5 separate regions of the Homo sapiens genome follow, and all the other regions are linked to region 2. The links are contacts of gene promoters, found by promoter capture Hi-C in blood cells and fetal thymus (Javierre and others, 2016). All regions are on one chromosome and are shown on one strand. Each heading gives the region's core, a stretch centred on a gene start or on the middle of the fragment in contact. The rest is flanking DNA. Distances are from core to core; before and after follow the strand shown. Region 1 overlaps DENND5A (DENN domain containing 5A). Region 2 holds the start of IPO7 (importin 7). Region 3 overlaps DENND5A (DENN domain containing 5A). Region 4 overlaps DENND5A (DENN domain containing 5A). Region 5 overlaps DENND5A (DENN domain containing 5A).

Evidence for each region. The method cuts DNA at HindIII sites, captures the fragments that hold promoters and counts their contacts. A CHiCAGO score of 5 or more calls a contact.
Region 1: a fragment that was not itself captured here is called in contact with the fragment with the promoter of IPO7 in region 2 in 1 of 17 cell types (M1 macrophages); the score reaches 5.0 in M1 macrophages.
Region 3: a fragment that was not itself captured here is called in contact with the fragment with the promoter of IPO7 in region 2 in 2 of 17 cell types (activated CD4 T cells and naive CD8 T cells); the score reaches 5.5 in activated CD4 T cells.
Region 4: a contact is called between a fragment that was not itself captured here and the fragment with the promoter of IPO7 in region 2, in 2 of 17 cell types (non-activated CD4 T cells and naive CD8 T cells). The highest score is 5.6, in non-activated CD4 T cells.
Region 5: a contact is called between a fragment that was not itself captured here and the fragment with the promoter of IPO7 in region 2, in 6 of 17 cell types (neutrophils, naive CD8 T cells, activated CD4 T cells and 3 more). The highest score is 8.5, in neutrophils.

Annotation. Positions count from the first base shown.
Region 1 is chr11:9,136,917-9,141,311 of GRCh38, forward strand. It overlaps DENND5A (DENN domain containing 5A), which reads right to left. Exons shown (of 23, transcript NM_015213.4): 23 at 1,909-2,938. The coding sequence ends at 2,755. Among named protein-coding and RNA genes, the nearest start is that of SCUBE2, 48 kb to the left of the region's middle. RefSeq lists enhancers at 1,103-1,292, 2,106-2,400. The HindIII fragment of the contact is 1,904 bases long and covers 2,011-3,914 here.
Region 2 is chr11:9,381,591-9,386,121 of GRCh38, forward strand. It overlaps IPO7 (importin 7), which reads left to right and starts at 3,062. Exons shown (of 25, transcript NM_006391.3): 1 at 3,062-3,257. The coding sequence starts at 3,174. RefSeq lists an enhancer at 3,064-3,579. The HindIII fragment of the contact is 13,114 bases long and covers 1-4,531 here.
Region 3 is chr11:9,217,283-9,221,331 of GRCh38, forward strand. All of the region lies in intron 1 of DENND5A (DENN domain containing 5A), which reads right to left. Among named protein-coding and RNA genes, the nearest start is that of DENND5A, 46 kb to the right of the region's middle. The HindIII fragment of the contact is 1,728 bases long and covers 1,001-2,728 here.
Region 4 is chr11:9,191,214-9,195,539 of GRCh38, forward strand. DENND5A (DENN domain containing 5A) reads right to left here. Exons shown (of 23, transcript NM_015213.4): 5 at 2,281-2,468. Among named protein-coding and RNA genes, the nearest start is that of DENND5A, 72 kb to the right of the region's middle. The HindIII fragment of the contact is 3,592 bases long and covers 1-3,057 here.
Region 5 is chr11:9,158,559-9,162,892 of GRCh38, forward strand. It overlaps DENND5A (DENN domain containing 5A), which reads right to left. Exons shown (of 23, transcript NM_015213.4): 12 at 2,155-2,307. Among named protein-coding and RNA genes, the nearest start is that of SCUBE2, 69 kb to the left of the region's middle. The HindIII fragment of the contact is 7,618 bases long and covers 1-4,334 here.

The sequences.
Region 1 (4,395 bases), core at 1,713-4,212, 240 kb before region 2:
TCTTATCAAAGGGATCAACCTGAGGCAAATTGTCTAGATCTAGCTGCTGATCTGCAGGAAATGCTGAGGATAAAGGAGTATATTGAACTGCACCACGGGCATGAAATGAGCAAAAACCCAGGCTGTGAAAATCTACAGATCAAATGGCTTAAAATCTTCAACAATTTGTAAGAAAAGGAAAGGGATGGAGGGGACCCTTTAGATTAAAAGAGACTTAAAAGATGTATCAAGTTTTTTTAAAAGGACAGTAAGACTATAGCATGTAGGGATGCACATCTGGGTGACAAAACAATAAAGAAACTCAACGAAATTATTACTTATAAAAGTTAAGATGGAAGAAGGGAGGTGCTGGGACTGTGATGGGGAAGGGGGAACATGGAGGACCCTGGGGGGCTGGCAAAGTTCTATTCTTGACCTGAGTGGTGATTATAAGGGTGCTTGCTTTATAGTAATTCCCTGAGTTCCTTTGCTTGCTTGTTTATTTACCAGTCCCTGAAATCACAGCCTGGGAAGCCCTGAAGTAGAGCAGGTGCAGAAGCTGAGGCAGGCAGGGCTGCTTGCTGAGTGAACCAAACACACCTGATTTACCCAGGACCACTGGAGAGGCCTGGCTGGGCCCTACACGGAAGAACGCAGTTGACTCAAATGTCCTTGAAATCTTGAGCTACTAAACAGGTCTGTTCTCTTATATCACACATCATTCCAAAACAGATTTGCAGAAGATTACAAAACAAAACACAGTAGAAAGTGAGTAGGATCAGCTGTTACAAAGAGCAAGGAAATAGTTGGTCCCAGCACCTGCCTTAAGGTAAGCTCAGGCCTAGGCCCACAATATAAACACATACAGCTGAGTTCCATGCTGCCCTTCTTGCCCAGCCAAGAATCCCACTTCCTGCTCCAGAGGTACTGCCTACCTTCCTTCCCCTTTCCTCGGCCTTCTCCGAGAGAACTAAAGCTCTGTCCGTGGGCTCCAGGCAGACGGCTGCAGTGTGGCCTCTCACCCCCTCTGCAGGCAGGACGCTGCGCTGCAGCTCTCTGGGCCCTCTCCTCATCTCTTCAGAAGCATTTACCACCTGCCAGGCCCAGGGGATGGAGACAGGCAAGAGATCCCCCTTTTCCCTCTGGGAGCTCACGGTGCAAGGGCTGAGCCTGACACGAAAGCAGGCAATGACAATCCAGAGAGGAGATGCCAGCATCTAAGAAAATGAAGGAGCACAAGGATGGAATGATTAACTGCCTAGGGAGATTGGGGACACTTCACAGCAGGTGACTGCTAAAGTAAACCCTGTACAACAAACACAAAGTGGGTGAAGGGGAGGCATTCCAGGCAAAGGGAAAATGCATGCAAACCAGGAAAGCATAAAAGAGGGCACTGATTGGTCTGAGGTGCCTGACTTGATCACGTTACACTTCTTCTGGAGCTTCCTGCCAAAGCAGCCTGAAGAATAAAAATGAACGAAGCTGGACCTCTCATAAAGGTCTCCCACCTGCCATCCCCAGGAAAGCAAACCTTTCTTTCAAGAGCTTCCCCCGACCCCCAGCTTCCCACACCTGGTCTCCCTTACCCTCTCAAGAAAGGGCCCATCCTGTCTCAGTCAAGTGACAACCTCTGCACCCCTGGCCGGGTCTTTTCCCTCCTGTGTCTCAGTCTCCTCCTCTGTGGAGTGGGGAAAGAACCCTGTCTGCATCCATGTGAATCAGCCACATAACAGCTAGGAAGGCTCCTAGCACTGCGGGCAGAAGGACCCAGGAGACCCCAGGCCCTCAGGGGCATCCTGGGCAGGCCACAACCCCGAGCCTGCTGGTAAAGAGAGGTGATGCCACAAGACCATCCTCACAGATGGACCCAACTGCACCCGCAGCCACCCACTGCTCATAAACCTCCATAAAAATCAGTGATCCATGCAGTTTTTGTTTCAGGTGTTTTATTAAGTGGGCCATACTGTAGCTGGTTTCTAAGTTGCAAAACATAAATTTAATAATAATAACATAGCCAGTTAGATTGTGACAAGCTTTTCCTTTCCTTAAAAAAAGAAAATACTTAAAAACACACAATGGCGGGTTAAATAAATAAAACATTTTAAAAAAGAAAAAAGAAAAGAAAAACCTGTTAAAACATGCTTATGTTTACTTCTGTGAAACTGTGCCAACAGGAAATGTGGTATTTGGCACGATGACACATCCCGGCATGTCTCCTTCCCAAACAATACTGACAAAAAAGAAAATACGTGGGACTGACTCATCGGTGCTTGCTTAGAGGCACTACTAAAAATCCCTTTGATTGGAGCATGGGGCTTCCCGCGCAGCACACCTGTGTGTGGCCTATGAAAGCCAAATATCCATAATAATGTTAATATAGAAAAACATTAGTTTAAAAATGATGTGGAAGGGCCTCATTAATGCGACGGGGCAAGGAAACATAACTGTCCCGCACGCAGTGCCACAGGCTCAGTCCAGGGAGGCCTCAGGCTTCCAGCATGTGGCCACGGCGAGGGAGGGCACCAGCTTCAAAATAAGCGGCACCAGCCTCGCTCCCTCTCCCTATCACTCTTTCACATGAAAGTGTGTAAAAAGCAAATCAGCAAATAAACTCTAAAATAGATTATTTATTCCAAAAATCCTCTAGTTTTCTTTTTACAGTGAGTGTACATTTTGTCTCCTACTCCTGCACAATCGCTTAAGTCCCTTTGGGAAAAAAGGTCAGAGCTGCAGGGTGAGTCTTTCTCAGTCCTGCTGCTGGCTGGTGCTGGGAGGTCAGATGTCGATGCCCTTGACAAGGGACGTCTCCAGCGTGATGTTGAACTCCTGCAATGTCTGCAGCACACGAATCAAGGAATTGACAAGTGTATGGTCTTTGATCAGTGCCACATCCTCATACATGTGTGCAGTGATGGGGCAGTCAGCCAGCAGGGCAATCCAGTGGTGTAGGAGGTGATCTCTGGCAGAGCGGGAGCAGTCCAGGCAGGTCAGAGGGGCAAAGGAAAAGGAAGAGAGAGCGTTAGTGCAAGGCCAAGGGGGAAACCATGAACTAAGTCTGAAGCTGGAGAAGCTGACAGCCCCCCACACCCCCCTTTCCCAAACAGGGACTGGCAAAGAGGTCTTTCAGCTCCAGGACACCAAACAAACCTGACCCAAATCAGCCCTGTCATGAGCCTCCAAGCCTCCTCCTCCCCTGCCTCCCTCGCCCTGCCTAGTCAGCCCCACCACTGGTGTCTCCCAGAGCTTCTCTCCTCCCACAGCTACCACCACCAGGAATAATAATAAGCACTAACCTCACATAACACTCAGCATGTGCTGGCACTGACATAAGAGATTTAATCTTCATGATAACCCTGTGATATGAGGTAGGTACTATTATTATCCCCACTTTATAGATGAAGAAAGTAGGGTAGATGGAAGTTAAGTAGCTTGTCCAAGATCACATGGCTAGTAAATGGATAACTTGAGATCTGAACCTAGTGAATGCGGTTCTGGAGTCTGTTTTTAACCACTATGCCAATTCTCTCCCTTTATGCAGCCTGAATAAACTGCCTTAAGTTTATTTGAGCTTCATGCTCTCTCACCTGACCTACAGGAATAGCCCCTAATAATCATGTCCACTCTAATGCATACCACCCATAATATCAGATTAATATTACTTCAGTCCCCTGATGAAACAACTTTGTACTAATATGAAAAGAATCTTTCTCTGTCCCAGCTCAGGGGCCCTACCCTCCTTTCAACTGTGTTTCCTATTACTGCCCTTGCCACGTTCTGTTATTTCCTTCCATTAAAGGCTCACTTAAATACCAACTCCTCCCTGAAGTCTTCTCTGATCTTTCTCCTCTACCTTTTCAGCATATTGTATGAATGTACACTTCATTTTTGGACCCTCAAAACCTTCTTCCATGCTCTGTATTTAATTAGGACAAGTAAGCTTCTAAATGTTGGCCAGGCATGGTGGCTCACGCCTGTAATTTCAGCACTTTGGGAGGCCAAGGAAGGCAGATCACCTGAGGTCAGGAGTTCAAGACCAGCCTGACCAACATGGAGAAACCCCGTCTCTACTAACAATACAAAACTAGCCAGGCGTGATGGCGCATGCCTGTAATCCCAGCTACTCGGGAGGCTGAGGCAGGAGACTCACTTGAACCCAGGAGGCGGAGGTTGTGGTGAGCCGAGATCACACCATTGCACTCCAGCCTGGGCAACAAGAGCGAAACTCCATCTCAAAATAAATAAATAAATAAATAAATAAATGGTAAGGGGCCACGTTTTATTCAGCTGTCTTCCTACCAACTTCCATAAGGCCATTTAAATGTCTAATGAAGGAATAACTAGATATACTCTGCTTCAAACTTCCCCAGTGGTGTGATTTTGATCTTTCCTTTCAAAATGGGGCCCCTCTGCCCCGAG
Region 2 (4,531 bases), core at 1,812-4,311:
GAGGAAAATTCTTAAACAGATTGTATTTGTAACACTATTACACTTTTTACAGGTTATTATTATGAAAACTTTCTGACTCCTCACAATTTAAGTAGCCTGAGCCTCGGGTTCTTCATTTGTAAATTTTTTTTTTTTGAGACGGAGTCTTGCTCTGTTGCCCAGGCTGGAGTGCACTGGTGCGATCTCAGCTCACTGCAACCTCTGCCTCCCTGGTCCAGGTGATTCTCCTGCCTCAGCCTCCTGAGTATCTGGGATTACAGGTGAGCACCACCATGCCTGGCTAATTTTTTTTTTTTTTTTGAGACAGAGTCTTGCTCAGTCGCCCAGGCTGGAATGCAGTGGCCCGATCTCGACTCACTGCAAGCTCCACTCCCCGGGTTACGCCATTCTCCTGCCTCAGCCTCCCGAGTAGCTGGGACTACAGGCACCGGCCACCACGCCCGGCTAATTTTTTTGTATTTTTATTTTTATTTATTTATTTATTTTATTTTTTATTTTTTATTTTTTTTGAGACGGAGTCTGGCTCTGTCCGCCAGGCTGGAGTGCAGTGGCGCGATCTTGGCTCACTGCAAGCTCCGCCTCTCGGGTTCGCGCCATTCTCCTGCCTCAGCCTCCCGAGCAGCTGGGACTACAGGCGCCCGCTACCGCGCTCGGCTAATTTTTTGTATTTTCAGTAGAGACAAGGTTTCACCATGTTAGTCAGGATGGTTTCGATCTCCTGACCTTGTGATCCGCCCGCCTCGGCCTCCCAAAGTGCTGGGATTACAGGCGTGAGCCACCGCGCCCGGTCTTTTTTGTATTTTTAGTAGAGAGAGGGTTTCACTGTGTTAGCCAGGATGATCTCGATCTCCTGACCTCGTAATCCGCCCGCCTTGGCCTCCCAAAGTGCTGGGATTACAGGCGTGAGCCACCGGGCCAGGCAATTTTTGTATTTTTAGTAGAGATGGGGTTTTGCCATGTTGGCCAGGCTGGTCTCGAACTCTTGACCTCAGGTGATCCCGCCCACCTCAGCCTCTCAAATTGCTGTGGTTACGGTTGTGAGCCACCATGCCCGGCCTAAATTAGGAATAATTCTGTCTTACTTCCAGTACTTCCAGGCACAGTGGCTGGCATATACAAGGTAGTAACATTGCAAAACCCACCGCTTCAGGGAAAGGCTTTCGTGAGCCTTTCCTTCTCTTTTTTTTGTAAATTAAAAACAATAAGTGATCATTTAACACATTGTATTTGAAGGCTTATAATTAATTTTAAGTATATCTGTTTATATAACTTTGTTACAATAATAACAGATATGAAAGGAAATTACTCCAAATCTCACCATCCTGTTAATAGAAAATAAATTATTTTCATTTGCTAACCTTGCTTTTCAGTCTTTGTCCATGTTACAAAGCTATATCCTTCCATAAATACTTTTTTGTTATATTTTTTAATGGCTGTGAAATATTTAATTTACTGGATTCTTGCTATTTGCTTAACCAGTCCTATATTGTTCAACATTTCTCTTCAGAGGCAGAGTGATTTAGTGGAAACAATGGAAAGTTTGAAAACAAAGATCTTAGGTTTGAAATCTTAGTTGAACCTCTTACTACGTGACCTTGGGTAAGTTATTTAACCTTTCTAAAACAAACTTTTTCTTGGCTGTTATAAAAGAGGACTTTTTCTTTCTTTCTTTCTCCCCCACCTCCCTCTTTTTTTAGAGATGGGGTCTCGCTATGTAGCCCAGGCTGTAGCGTAGTGGCTACTCATAGGCACGATCTTAACAGGCTGTCACCTTGAACTTCTGGTCTCAAGCAATCCTCCTGCCTCAACAGGAGGATTACGCCTGGCTAGGAAGGTGTCTTTTATTTTTATTTATTTATTTATTTATTTTTGAGATAGAGTCTCGCTCTGTCACCCAGGCTGGAGTGCAGTGGCATGATCTCGGCTCACTGCAAGCTCCACCTCCTGGATTCACGCCATTCTCCTGCCTCAGTGTAGCTGGGACTACAGGCGCCCACCACCACACCCGGCTAATTTTTTGTATTTTTAGTAGAGACGGGGCTTCACCGTGTTAGCTAGGATGGTCTCAATCTCCTGACCTTGTGATCCGCCCACCTTGGCCTCCCAAAGTGCTGGGATTACAGGTGTGAGCCACCGCGCCTGGCAGGAAGGTGTATTTTAATAGGGATTATGCTTTTACTCTGCATTAAGAGGTGATTTATATGAAGTCCCAACTAAAATTTGGATACTCAATAAAAAGCCATGATTTCAGTATTTGGTAATTACTAATACGTAATGTGATAAAAACCTTTCACACATAAAGTTCATTTAATCTTCCGTGTTATTGCCTTAGGATAAAGTCTCATAAGTGGAATTACTGGGTCAGAGTTTAAACATTTCGTTTCGTTTTGTTTTTTTGAGACGGAGTTTCGCTCTTGTTGCCCAAGCTGGAGTGCAATGGCACGATCTCGGCTCACTGCAACCTCCGCTTCCCGGGTTCAAGCGATTCTCCTGCCTCAGCCTCCCTAGTAGCTGAGACTACAGGCGCGTGCCACCACGCCCGGCTAATTTTTTGTATTTTTAGTAGAAACGGGGTTTCGCCGTGTTAGCCAGGATGCTCTCGATCTCCTGATCTCGTGATCCGCCCGCCTTGGCCTCCCAAAGTGCTGGGATTACAGGCGTGAACCACCGCGCCCGGCAGTTTAAATATTTTAGTGGCTATCAGAAACACATCTCAAATTGCTTTTCAGAAAGTTTCCTTCAATCACGCAGCCATTAGCAATCGATTGCACCACACACTGTATCTGACTCCCTTTATGAACATTGTGGATATAGTATGTGAAACCTTTTGTAACTGATTGTTTTGCTTTTCTTTTTGTGGAACTTGAACATTTTTCGTTTTTGAACAGAAAGACTTGTCTGTAGGAACGACAGCTCAGGCAGCCACGTGGGCTGCGGACTGTGTTTGTGGACTACATCTCCCAAAGTGCTCCGCAGGCGCGCCCACAGGAAGTCGCCGGAGCATCTCCCGCCTCCACGCCGAGGCGAAGAGGTTCTATCCGGGGCCTTGGCGCTTCTCTTTCCTTTCGCGCCGGTTGCCGCTGCGGAGCGCGGCGGGTCCATGTGCGCAGTGAGTGGCGCTATTCCTGGCCCAGTAGCACCCGAGCCCCGGGTTTGACCGAGTCCGCGCTGCGATGGACCCCAACACCATTATCGAGGCCCTGCGGGGCACTATGGACCCAGCCCTGCGTGAGGCCGCGGAGCGCCAGCTCAATGAAGTAAGGACGCCCGGCTAGCGGTGGCGGCGGGCAGGCGGGTGGGCAGAAGTGGCAGGCCGAGCCCCCGGGGCCTGGCCGGAGGCGCGGACGACGTCGTTGAGGGTCCCAGCAGGAGGGTGGGGCGGACATCTGACGGCGACTTCCACGCCGGGGCGCCTCGGTGTGGTGTGGTGGTGGTGGCTGCAGCCAAGGCTGCCTTTGCTTCGGATCCTGAGCTGGGCCTCTGGCTGCGGTCTAGGCATGAGGAGCCGGCTGAGGCGGGGCGGGCGTGACGGGTTGGACACATGGCTGGCTCGGGTGGCTGGCCGACCTCTGGCTCATTCCCAGCTGGTTCCTCACGTCCAGGAGGGGGCGAAACTTACTGGGAGGTTTTTCAGATGTTTCTGAGACCAGTCTCGCCGTCGCAGGGTTTGGAAGGGCTCCTGGGAATGCCGGCTGGTCCTTTGGGGGCTGCGCCTGTCATCCTTGTCACTTTGCTGGGCTGATCAGTGGCCTGCCTCGGGCACAACTTCCTCCTCTCTGGCTGAGTTGCTAGGGAAGGCTTTCAAAGGCAAGCCCGCGCCTCCTTGGCAGGATAGGAGTAGTGCGGGACACTCACAGAGTCTGATCCCTGCTTTTCCGCTGTCCTAATGCTTCAGTCGGGGAGCTGGCTTATGTAGTGGGAAGGATCAGGTGAAGTGCACCCTTCTAGGTATAGCTGCACCATTGATTCCTTGAGTGACCTTGGGCCAGTCGCTTAACCTCTTGATCCTGAGTTTTTCCCATTCATAAAATTACGCCACAGAGTTGCTGTGACAGACAGGTGAGATAATGTTAAGTCTGAGTGCCTTGGAACATGCTGAGCTCCTTATCAGTTCAGATATTGCATTCTCTGAAGGTTTTTTTTTTCCCCCATATTTTGTGGGGACCGCTCCTTGGAAAACAGCTTAATTGCATGAATATTTATTGTACTATCTCCAGTGTCATTCTTTGTTTCTAAACTTTTGCATTTTTACGTATTAATGATCAGTATTTTAAATCCTTCTTAAAAGGGCTGCTGTAACTTTTCTGCCAGTTAGTAACTGTCCTTCAGCATGCTGCTGAATCTGCCAGCTTTACTGAACTTTAGTGTACATTTTTTAACTGAAAAAGAAATCACACTTTAAAATAGAAATTCAACTATTTTATGCGTCTTTTAGCTGGTAAGTAAATAATTTAAAAACATTGTTTATATTGACTTACCAGAAACAGCAGAAATATTACTAACTGGACTTTCAGTGTAAAGGGCTGCACTA
Region 3 (4,049 bases), core at 615-3,114, 170 kb before region 2:
GGCGGGTGATCACCTGAGGTCAGGAGTTTGAGACCAGCCTGGCCAACATGGTGAAACCCCATCTCTACTAAAAATGCAAAAATTAGCCAGGCGTGGTGGGGCACACCTGTAGTTCCAGCTACTCGAGAAGCTGAGGCAGGAGAATAGCTAGAACCCAGGAGGCAGAGGGTGCAGTGAGCCGAGATCTCACCACTGCACTCCAGCCTGGGCAATAAGAGCAAAAATTCCGTCTCAAATTAATTAATTAATTAATTGCCCAGAAAAGGCCTACGTATGGAGACAGAAAGTAGATTAGTGTTTACCTGGGATGAGGGGATACAGAGTGACTGCTAATTAGTACAAAGTTTCTTTTTAAAGTGATTAAAATATTCTAAAATTAAATTATGGTAACGATTGCACAACTCTGCAAATACATTAAAAAACAGAAATTGTATACTGTAAGCAGGTAAACTAGGCTATGTAAAGTATATCTTCATAAAGTGATTTAAAAAATAAAAGGACAAACAACAAAAGAAATTTGGCATGCTAGTAAAATACAGTCTCCTACTGTCAAAGCATGTGTCATTTCCAACAAAGTATCTTTTCCCACACACAAAAATTATTATCACAGATAAAAGATATGCAGAGATAAAAGATGACATTGTATACATAAAACAAGAATAGACTGTTGTTTTAAAAGAATATTCAGAAAATAAAACAAGGCTGGGCAGTGGCTCATGCCTGTAATCTCAGCACCAAGGTGGGTAGAGATTGTTTGAGTCCAGGAGTTCAAGACCAACCTGGGCAACATGGCAAGACCCCATCTGTACAAAATAATAATTAAAAGATTAGCCAGGCATGGTGGTGCCCACCAGTAGTCTCAGCTACTCAGGAGGCTGAGGCAGGAGGACTGCATGAGCTCAGGAGGCAGAGGCTGCAGTGAGCTGAGATAGCACCACTGCACTCCAGGCTGGGTGACAGAGCAAGACCCCGTCTCAAAAAAATAAACAAAAAAAAAACAAGCTTGTGGAAATTAAAATGGTGTCAGAAAAATTTAAAACTCAACAGAAGAGTTAGCAAATAGATTTGAGGAAATATCCTCAGAAGTAGGACAAAATAAATAAAATTAGAGAAAAAATAGTAATAAAATTAGTCTGGGTACAGTGGCTCATGCTTAGGCTCAGCTCATGCTTAGGCGGGATGCAGTGGCTCCCAGCTCTTTGGGAGGCCGAGGGGAGTGGATCACTTAAGCCCAGGAGTTTGAGACCAGTCTGTGCAACATGGCGAAATCCTGTCTACTAAAAATACAAAAATTAGCTGGGTGTGGTGGAGTGTGCCTGTAGTAGGCTGAGGTGGGAAGATCGCTAGAGCCCGGGAGATGAAGGTTAGAGTGAGCTGTGATCGTGTCACTGCACTCCAGCTGGGTGACAGAGTGAAACTTTGTCTCAAAAATAAATGTATTGGGCCGGCGTGGTGGCTCACGCCTGTAATCCCAGCACTTCAGGAGGCTGAGACAGGTGGATCACCTGAGGTCAGGAGTGCAAGACCAAGCTAGCCAACATGGTGAAACCCCACCTCTACTAAAAAAATAAAAATTAGCCAGGCGTAGTGGCACATGCCTGTAATCCCAGCTACTTGGGAGGCTGAGGCAGGAGAATCGCTTGAACCCGGGAGGTGGAGGTTGCAGTAAGCCAAGATCGCGCCACTGCACTCCAGCCTGGGCAACAAGAATGAAACTCCATCTCAAAAAAATAAATAAACAAATAAATGAAATAAATTTATTTATTTATTTAAGAAATAATAAAATTAGAGTCCATCCAAGAGGTCTAAAACCCAAATAAAAGTATACCATAAAAAGCGAAGAGAAAAAATAAAGGGGAGGAAATTATCAACAAAATAATAAAGTTTCCCAGAAATGACAGGCATGAACTTCCAAACTGAAAGTGCTCTTCAAGGATCTAGCACAATGGATGAAAACAGACCCACACCAAGACACGTCATGATGTAATTTCAGAATGCCAGGGACAATGAGAAAATTCTAGATGTTTCCAGGAAGAAACAAATTTACCAAGGAAAGATATCTGAATAGCACTGGATTTCTCAATAGCAACACTGGAATCTAGCAGACAATGAGGCAATGTCCTCAAAATTCTGTGGGAAAATTATTTCCAGTTAGAATTATATACTCAGCCAAATAATAAGAGAGTAAAAGAAAGAAATTTCAAACATGTAATCTCAAAAAAAGAATGTATTTTCTATGAATCCTTTCTCAGGAAGCATATGCTCTGCCAAAACGAGAATTAACAAAAAAAAACGACTTACATATGGGATGGAGGAAACTGGAGCCATCACGAGAAAGTGACAGAGGATAACTCCAAGATAAGGTGAGGGGACATCCCAAGATTTTAGTGCAATAGGCCTGGCAGGCCAACACCTCAAATAATCCAGATTGATGGGGCTCAGGCAAGAATCCACAGCTTGCATCATATTTTCCAAGGGATCTGTGAGCCAAAAAATACTTTAAGCCACTGCTTTAAGGTGTCCATTACAGGTCTTGCACAAGGGACAAACCACAACAGACTTCTATAACAAAAAGAAATTTTTCAGATGTTGCAAATCTCAGAGACAAAGAATGTGGAGTAATGCAGTAGATTAACACATTTTTTCTGATTGGATATCATCATTTAGAAAGAAAGGAAAGGGGCTCAGTTAAAGCACTCTAGAAGCCCAGGGAATTTGATTCAAATGAAGCTTAATACCTTACTCCTCAAAACATTCTGAAGAGAGATTGGTTTTGTTTTGTTTTTTCAATTTGTGATTTATGTCCCACCTATGTCAAAAAACAAGGTGGTATATAAGAAAAATCATACTAAAAAATTAAAGCAGGACAAAGAACACTAAAAGCAAAAAAAATAGATGTGCTTAAACGCCTGTGGCATAACTTTCTTATAAATTGCAAAAAATGATAGTTTGCTTGCAATGTATGATATTTAAAAATAATTCGGGCCAGGCACAGTGGCTCATGCCTGTAATCCCAACACTTTGGGAGGCCGACGCGGGCAGATCACCTGAGGTCAGGAGTTCAAGACCAGTCTGACCAACATGGAGAAACCCTGTCTCTACTAAAAATACAAAATTAGCCGGGCGTGGTGGCACATGCCCGTAATCCCAGCTACTTGGGAAGCTGAGGCAGGAGAATCACTTGAACCCAGGAGGTGGAAGTTGCAGTGAGCCAAGATCATGCCATTGCACTCCAGTATAGGCAACAAGAGCGAAACTCTGTCTCAAAAATAATAATAATAATAATAATAATAATTCAACATGGAAAAAAATATGAATGAAAATACCGGCCGGGCACAGGTGGCTCACACCTATAATCCCAGCACTTTGGGAGGCTGAGGGGGTTAGATTACCTGAGGTCAGGAGTTCCAGACCAGCCTGGCTAACATGGCAAAACCCAGTCTCTTCTAAAAATAAAAAAATTAGCCAGGCATGGTGGTGGGTACCTGTAATCCCAGCTACTGGGGAGGCTGAGGTACGAGAATTGCTTGAACCTGGGAGGCAGAGGTTGCAGTAAGCTGAGATCGCACCACTGCACTCCAGCTTGGGCGACAAAGCGAGACTCTGTCTCAAAAAAAAAAAGTGTGTGTGTGTACACACACACACATAAATTAGCCAGGCATAGTGGCGGGTGCCTGTAGACTCAGCTACTTGGGAGGCTGAGGTGGGAGGACTGCTTGAGCCCAGGAGGCAGAGGTTGCCGTGAGCCGAGATGGCGCCATTGAGCTCCAACCTGGATGAGAGAGCAAGACACTGTCTAAAAAAAGAATACAAACCCAAAAAACAAAAAACTTTGGTATCAGAATCAGAGATTAAAACATTCAATCGGCTGGACACGGTGGCTCACGCCTGTAATCCTAGCACTTTGGGAGGCCAAGGCAGGTGGATCACCTGAAGTCAGGAGTTCAAGACCAGCCTGGCCAACATGGTGAAACCCTGTCTCTACTAAAAATACAAAAATTAGCCGGGCATGGTGGCGAGTGCCTGTAGTCTCAGCTACTCAGGAGGCT
Region 4 (4,326 bases), core at 12-2,511, 190 kb before region 2:
TCTGTTTTTTTTTTGAGGTGGAGTCTCACACTGTCACCCAGGCTGGAGTGCAGTGGCGCGATCCACCCAGGTTGGAGTGCAGTGGCGTGATCTCGGCTCACTGCAACCTCTGGCTCCGGGCTTCAACAATTCTCCTGCCTCAGCCTCCCACGTAGCTGGGACTACAGGCGTGCACCACCATGCCCAGCTAATTTTTTTGTATTTTTAGTAGAGATGGAGTTTCACCATGTTGACCAGACTGGTCTCGAACTCCTGACTTCAGGTGATCTGCCCGCCTCGGCCTCCCAAAGTGATGGGATTATAGGCGTGAGCCACCGCACCCGGCCAACTTTTGGGTTTCTTAAACAACCCATGGTTTCTTAAACAGTCCCATTAAGAAATCTGTTGATCCCTCAGAGGTCCCTTTGTATAGCCGTATACATGAAGCACATAGGGAACAACGTTGAAAAATCCTAGAGAGATCAGAATTTGCCCCAAGTATAAAGAAAGCTGATGCCAAAGAGGAAAATAAAACTGAGAAATCTGGCTTCTTGCTTAGTGGCCTATGTATTAAAGTATGCACATAGCTTGCCTCTTTGGCCTTCCACCTTCAACAATTTTTTGTTATTGTTCTTTTTGTGACTTTACAGAATCATAATTAGGTTGACTAAGTTGTATCAATATTAAATAGACATTTGTTTAAAGCAAACAACAAAAAGCTCTTCTTTCTCCAGTCGACTCTTCAGGTTTATGTATGGTACAGTAAGCAAGTACACAAAAAACCCCAATATTATCTCAACTCAATGATTTTATCCATCATTTAGATTTTTTTTCCTTAATTAATCTTGTTCCACCCCAAAGAGCACAACGCTCTATAAAGTCAAAGAAGAAAAAAGGGCAGAAATGGAAGAAGCTACAAGGAAGACAAGGAAGACATTTTGATTCTAAAACTAAAGAAGAGAGAAAAGAGCAGAGATGCATTTGACTATAATTTAAATATCACAGACATGGTCTAATTATCAGGGTATTCATCAAAGATGCTGCCCAGTCATGACCAGTGACACAGTGCTGCCCAGATCCAGTTCCATGAGAATGCTCTCTTCTTGGGGCCCCTCACTTATATTCCTCACTTATATACAAAAATCTCTACCCCCGGCCGGGCGCGGTGGCTCACGCCTGTAATCCCAGCACTTTGGGAGGCCAAGGCGGGTGGATCATGAGGTCAGGCGTTCGAGACCAGCCTGGCCAACATAGTGAAACCCCGTCTCTACTAAAAATACAAAAATTTAGCCGGGTGTGGTGGTGGGCACCTGTAATCACAGCTACTTGGGAGACTGAAGCAGGAGAATCACTTGAACCTGGAAGGCAGAGGTTGCAGTCAGCCAAGATTGTGCCACTGCACTCCAGCCTGGGTGACAGTGCGAGACTTCGTCTCAAAAAAAAAACAAAAAAAAACAAAAAAAAAACTCTACCCCCAAAAAAATGGTGGTGGAAGGAGGAAACGAAGAGTCATGGTGACACCAGTGTATGTATACTCCAAAGTCTTCTTCCCAGGCCTTTCTAATGACTAAGAAATTCAAAGTAGGAAAGCACTTCCCTGCAGGTAGTTTCACAACAGCCACAAAGTAACATACCAGTTCTGCTGGTAATTCTAAAAAAATTAAAAATAAAAAATCTTATTTCTAATCATGCTTTAAATCTACTTTAGAATGGAATAGGAAATACATTATTTTAAATCAATTCTTTTCTTAGCCAGGCACAGTGGCTCATGCCTATAATCCCAACACTTTGGGAAGCCAAGGCAGGAGGATTACTTGAGCCCAGGAGTTCGAGACCAGCCTGGGCAACATGGTGAGACCCTGCATCTACAAGACATAAAAAAACAATTAGCTGGGCATCGTGGCACACTCCTTTAGTCCCAACTACTCAGGAGGCTGAGTCAGGAGGCTCACTTGAGCCCAGGAGTTCAAGGCTACAGTAAGCTACGATCATGCTACTGCACCCAGCCTGGGTAACACAGCAAGACCTTGTCTCTTAAAAAGCAAAACAAAACAAAAACAATAGCATAAATACAGAAATTACAATGTACATATGTCAGTTGATAAAGATAATAAGTGTCTCTGGGATGACATAAATTGAACTAAATATTCATTGTTTTTACTTTTTTCCTGAGAAGTTATTCATAATCACCAAAATAGAAGAAAATAAACTTGGTAACATCATGCATGCTGGGTTCATCCCAAAGCCCTTCTCTCCCCAATCCTGGATTGGGGCCAGAGGCACCAACACTCAAGATCTCACCTCTTGAGGCAGCTCCAGCTTTGACCGGTCATCCAGGCCATTGGAATGCAAACCCATCAGGTATGGAACAGGAGCATCTAAGAAATGCAGGAGAGAAGCTGGGAGAATAGGGACATAGACATGCTGCCACTGGAAAGGAAACATGAGAGCTGTAATCGTCTCCGCCACAGTCATCAGTCTCTGGTAATCTGGGTCAACAACAACAAAAAAAGCACACACACAAATCAGTCAAAAACAAGGCACTTGCTTTCCAAACAGTAAGTTAAAACTTTCAGTACAATTTCTTATTTAGAAACGATCACGATAAACTTCAGCTAGGGTATGCTCAATGTGATTCCCTTGAGGGTGTCCAAGAGACAACCAAGAGACCCTTGTGGACCACAAATTGAAATAAACCTACACACACAGGTCCTTGCTCATAATAAAATCTAATATGGAAATACAACAAAAATAATTAATGACATCTTGCTCCAAATACTACCACAGAATGTTAAGTAGATCCTCTTAAGAAAGGGGGTAGGAGAACTGAACAAAAAGAAAGACAGTGGTCCTGGGTCTCCATTCAGCATGGAAGCAAAAACATGCTCAGTTCTCACTAAGATACATCTGCAGAACATCCTATAAGGAGCTTATGTGAGCTTTGCCTGCAAAGTCAAGCACAAAGAACCACCAAGCATGCAGAAGCTGGTTTTCCACACTAGCCAAGTCTGCTCTACACCTGGCAACCTTTCCTGAATGAGAACAGCATAAAAATGTTATTATAACGTTTCAATAAAAAGCTTCCCTAGAGGCTGGGCATGGTGGCTCACGCCTGTAATGCCAGCACTTTGGGAGGCCGAGGCAGGTGAATCACTTGAGGTCAGGAGTTCGAGACCAGACTGGCCAACCAACATGGTGAAACCCCATCTCTACTAAAAATACAAAAATTAGCCGGGCGTGGTGGCATGCACCTGTAATCCCAGCTACTTGGGAGGCTGAGACGTAAGAATTGCTTGAACCTGGGAGGCAGAGGTTGCAGTGAGCCGAGACTGCACAGCTGCACACGCCAGCCAGTGACAGAGCTAGACTCCTTCTTAAAAAAAAAAAAAAGGCTTCCCTAGAACTTGAAAGACTCAGAGGATTGACTTTAGCTACTCAAAACTCTTGTTATAGGTCAGAGATCATAGCCTAAAGGGAAGGCTCGTGGGCTTGTGATCATATTTGGCTTATCTTCAGAATGTAATTTCTAGGCCTTTTTTTTTTTTGTGACGGGGTCTTGCTCTGTTGCCCAGGCTAGAGTGCAGTGGCACCATCTCAGCTCACTGCAACCTCCACCTCCTGGGTTCAAGTGATTCTCCTGCCTCAGCCTCCCGAGTAGCTGGGATTACAGGTGCCCACCACCGCACCTGGCTAATTTTGTGTTTTTGGTAGAGACGGGGTTTCACCACCTCGGCCAGGCTGGTCTCGAACTCCTAACCTTGTGATCCACCCGCCTCAGCCTCCCAAAGTGCTGGGATTACAGGTGTGAGCCACCGCGCCCAGCCAGCCTTTTTTTTTTTTTTTTAATGACTAATAAATATATTGGTACAGCCAATAAAATTGACTAGTTAAAACTTTTTTTTTTTTTTTGACGGAGTTTTGCTGTTATTGCCCAGGCTGCAGTGCAATGGCACAATCTCAGCTCCACAACCTCCACCTCCCGGGTTTAAGCGATTCTCCTGCCTCAGCCTCCTGAGTAGCTGGGATTACAGGCATGCGCCACCACCCGAGCTAATTTTGTATTTTTTAGTAGAGACAAGGTTTCTCCATGTCAGGCTGGTCACGAACTCCCAACCTCAGGTGATCCGCCTGCCTCGGCCTCCCAAAGTGCTGGGATTACAGGAATGAGCCACTGCGCTTGGCCTAAAACTTAAATTTTACAAATTACTATTTGTAATGATATGATGATATGATGGTTTCAGGCATTTAAGGACAAAGCAGAAATATGCATTTTTAAATCATATGAGTAAAATCCTTCTGGAATGGCTGGTTTCAAATGAGCTGTCATAGGAATTAAAATGATGTTAT
Region 5 (4,334 bases), core at 1,041-3,540, 220 kb before region 2:
TAAATTAAATTAATATAAAATAAAATAAAATTCCATCATACATATAAGGAAACAGGCTTAGAGAAGCTAGGTAACTTGCTTAGTTTCATAAAGTTATTAAGTGGAAATCATACTTCAAACCCAGATCTGTCTGTTTTACAGTCAAGCTCTTAAACACTTACTATACTATCATCTAAAAATTAGTTAAGGACATAGAAAAGATATGAGATAAAAACAAAGCAAGTTGCAAAGCATTACATACAGTATTAACTCATTTGGATTTTTTAAAAAACCACTTCATTGAGATATAATTCATATTACCATAAAATTCACACTTTTAAAGTATGCAATTTTCTGAACAAAAAAATCTGGTTTTTAGTATAGAGTTGTGCAATCATCACCACTATCTAATTCTAGAACATTTTCATCACCCCCAAAAGACACTCCATATGCATTAGTAGTCACTTCCCATTGCTCCCTTCCTCTAGCCTCTGGCAACCCTTAATCTACTTTCTGTCTGTGGATTTGCCTATTTTAGACATTTTGTATAAATGAGATCACACAATCTGTGGCCTTTTGTGTCTGGCTTCTTTCACTTAGTATGTTTTCAGAGTTCATCCATGTTGTACCACATGTAGGTACTTTATTCCCTTTATTGCTCAATAATATTCCAATGTATTATACCAAATTTAGGTCACCCACTCATCAGCTGATAAATATCTGGGTCATAATAGCCACATAAGATGACACTATTATGACTAATGCTGCTATGAACTTTTTTTTCTTTTTTTTTTTTTTTTGAGACAGAGTTTCACTCTTGTTGCCTAGGCTGGAGTGCAATGGTGCAATCTTGGCTCACTGCAACCTCTGCCTCCTGGGTTCAAGCGATCCTCCTGCCTCAGCCTCCCAAGCAGCTGGGATTACAGGCATGCACCACCACCTGGCTAATTTTGTATTTTTGGTAGAGACGGGGTTTCACCATGTTGATCAAGCTGGTCTCAAACTCCTGACCTCAAGTGATCCACCTGTCTTGGCCTCCCAAAGTGCTGGGATTACAGGTGTGAGCCACTGCGCCTGGCCTGCTATGAACATTTGTATACAAGTTTTTGTGTAGACATATGTTTTCACTTATCTTGAGTATGTATCTAGAAGTGGGCTTGCTAGGTCATATAAGAACTGTTTAACATTTTGAGGAACTGCCAGACTGTTTTCCAAAGTGGCTGCACCATTTTACATTCCCATCAGCAATGTATGAAAGTTCCCATTTCTCCACATCCTTAACACTTGTTACTTATTTTAACTACTCCAGTGGATGTGAAATAGTATCTCATTGTGGTTCCACTGGGTTTTTAAATATACAGCTATATACGCATGGGCATATGTACACAGAAGAATGCTCTGAAGAACATGTGTGGAAGATTGTTGCTATACCCATTAGAATGACACAGGAAGGCAAGAGATCTTGGTCTGTTTTGTTCACTGAGGTATTTCTAGTGCCTACAACAGTACCTGACATAGTAGGCCCTTGAGAAATACCAATGGATACTAATATGTATTTTCTAATTTTTCCATGATAAAACTTCTTTTCAAAAAATTTCAAGTTATTTTCAAATTTAAAAATACATAAAAATAAAAGGTATCTATCTTGACTACCAATTGAAAACAGAGTATTTTGAAATAAGGAAATTCTCTGGGTATTAAGTGGAAAAATCAAACTTACTCAACTTCCTGAGGCCTTCTCTCAAATGTTTAGTTAAACCATCTGCATACAAAAGAAATGTTAATGACAGACTTTTTTTCCACTGTGAATATATGATTAGTGAAGAACCTTTAGTGTATGACTGGTACTTCCTGAGCTCCAACTTCTCTCTTTCTGGTCTATCTCTAGACTAGGGCCAGCTGCCAAACAGGACCTATCAGGTTGGCCTTCAGCTCTACCCCCAGGAAGAAAGATGCCTCTTTTTAAAAGTCTGACAAACACACAGATTTATAAAGCCTATCTTTAAGGAAAATAGTTTGGATCACATTTATTTAATTGTTTATTTCAAATCTCACTCCAGGGCACTGTGCACCATTCTTCAAAGCCAGTCAGCTGGACAAAAAGAGTGTGGGAAAGCTAGTAACTGAAAACAGGAAGACAATTTGCTCAGCAATGAGAGGCAAGACATACATTACCTGTTTCACTTGTAGTCCATGACTCCAGATCCTTTCCAGGAGATCACAAAGGCTGGCAATCAGGGTGTTCTCTTCCACCCCTGTGATGTTCACCTCCCCATGCCCTAGCTCCACAGCTTCTCGGCCCATCTTTTCCACCAGCATCCTCTTGGTCTACAAGGAAGCAGTCAACAGGATTAAATAACCACAGTGAGCAGGATTACATACAACCGGAGAGGGTTCTGACAGCCTGCACAGTACATCTGTTGGGCTGGGAAGGACAGGATGAATTAGCCCCAAGGACACAGAATATATTTATACCCATGTAGGTCAGGTTACAAGGGAGTGCATGCTTTAAAAATTTAGTTAAGAAAGGCCAGGTGTGGTAGCTCACACCTGTAATCCCAGCACTCTGGGAGGCCTAGTTGGGCGGATCACAAGGTCAGGAGATCGAGACCATCCTGGCTAACACGGTGAAACCCCGTCTCTATTAAAAATACAAAAAAATTAGCCAGGTGTGGTGGCGGGCGCCTGTGGTCCCAGCTACTCAGGAGGCTGAAGCAGGAGAATGGCGTCAACCAAGGAAGCGTAGCTTGCAGCAAGCTGAGATCGCGCCACTGCACTCCAGCCTGGGCAACAGAGCGAGACTCCGTCTCAAAAAAAAAAAAATATGTAGTTAAGGAAAGGATAAGAACACAGCAATCTTTATGACTCCTGGCCAGTGATTTCATCACTCTGTATTCAGTTTTTGCATTTATGCAAGAAACAAATAAACCCTTCAGTCATGCTTATCTCTGACATTGTCTGATTCCCACTGCTTAAATGACCCTACCAAACAAACCTTTGAGCATACATACAACTTAGAAACATATCTGAAATAACTGTCAAGGGGACAAAAATTGAGGAGGTAATTTATTTTACATAAAAATTTTCAACTGCTTATTGTAAGATCATAACCAAGAAAACACATACTGCATAATGATAATCACAGTTTTTATTAAGTACTATGTCAGGCATTGTACTTAGCATTTCATTATCTCATTTAAGCCTCCTAACAATCTGAGGTAACTATTATTATTGTTCCCAATTTACCAATACGGAAATTGAGAAATACAGTAATCAATATACTAAATTTAAACATAGTATAAAACAATATAGTATATTTATAGTCTAAGTATAGTTTAATTCTCTTAAGTAACTTGCCCAAAATCTATACGTAATATAGCACTCTATTAAATTATATATATATATATATTGTCCAAAATGAAACAGCAAAGTAGCAATAGATCTGGCCTTTGAACCCATATCTGCCTGAACTTTGAGTCCAAGTTCAAAAGTAAGATTTAACTATGCTATAAATTTGTGATATATAAAAATCTAAGAAAAGGAAAACAAATCACCCCAATCCTACTTTTCAGAAGCAACAACTCTTAATATTTTGGCATATTTCTTTCCACTGTTAGTTTTTAACCTTCTTATTGTGAAATATATAATATATATATGCTATTACATCATTATGACCAGCGCCAGGCCAGTTCCTTCTTTTTTTTTTTTTTTTTTTTTTGAGATGGAGTTTCGCTCTTGTTGCCCAGGCTGGAGTGCAATGGCACAATCTCGGCTCACTGCAACCTCCGCCTCCCCGGTTCAAGCAAATTCTCCAGCCTCAGCCTCCCGAGTAGCTGGGATTACAGGCATGCACCACCACGCCTGGCTAATTTTGTATTTTTAGTAGAGATGGGGTTTCTCCATGTTGGTCAGGCTGGTCTCAAACTCCCGACCTCAAGTGATCTGCCCACCTCAGCCTCCCAAAGTGCTGGGATTACAGGCATGAGCCACTGCGCCTGGCCAGTATTTTATTTATAAATACTGTCTGTTTATATCTTTGAAGCACCCTACGTGCCCTCTTCCATTCACCTTCCCACTCTAGAAGTGACCACTTACCCAACGAAACTACAGAAAAGCAAGAAAATTATTACCTATATTTTTAACCCTAAAATATATGGTTTGGTTTGCCTGTATGTATCTTTAAGACAGGGTCTCTCTCTGTTGCCTAGACTGGAGTGCAGTGGCTCGATCATGGTTCACGTAGCCTCAGCTTCCCAGATTCAACTGATCATCCCACCTCAGCCCCCGCAGTAGCTGGGACTATAGGCATGCATGTTTCTTTTGTGATTTTTTTTTTTTTTTTTTCTTTAAGAAAC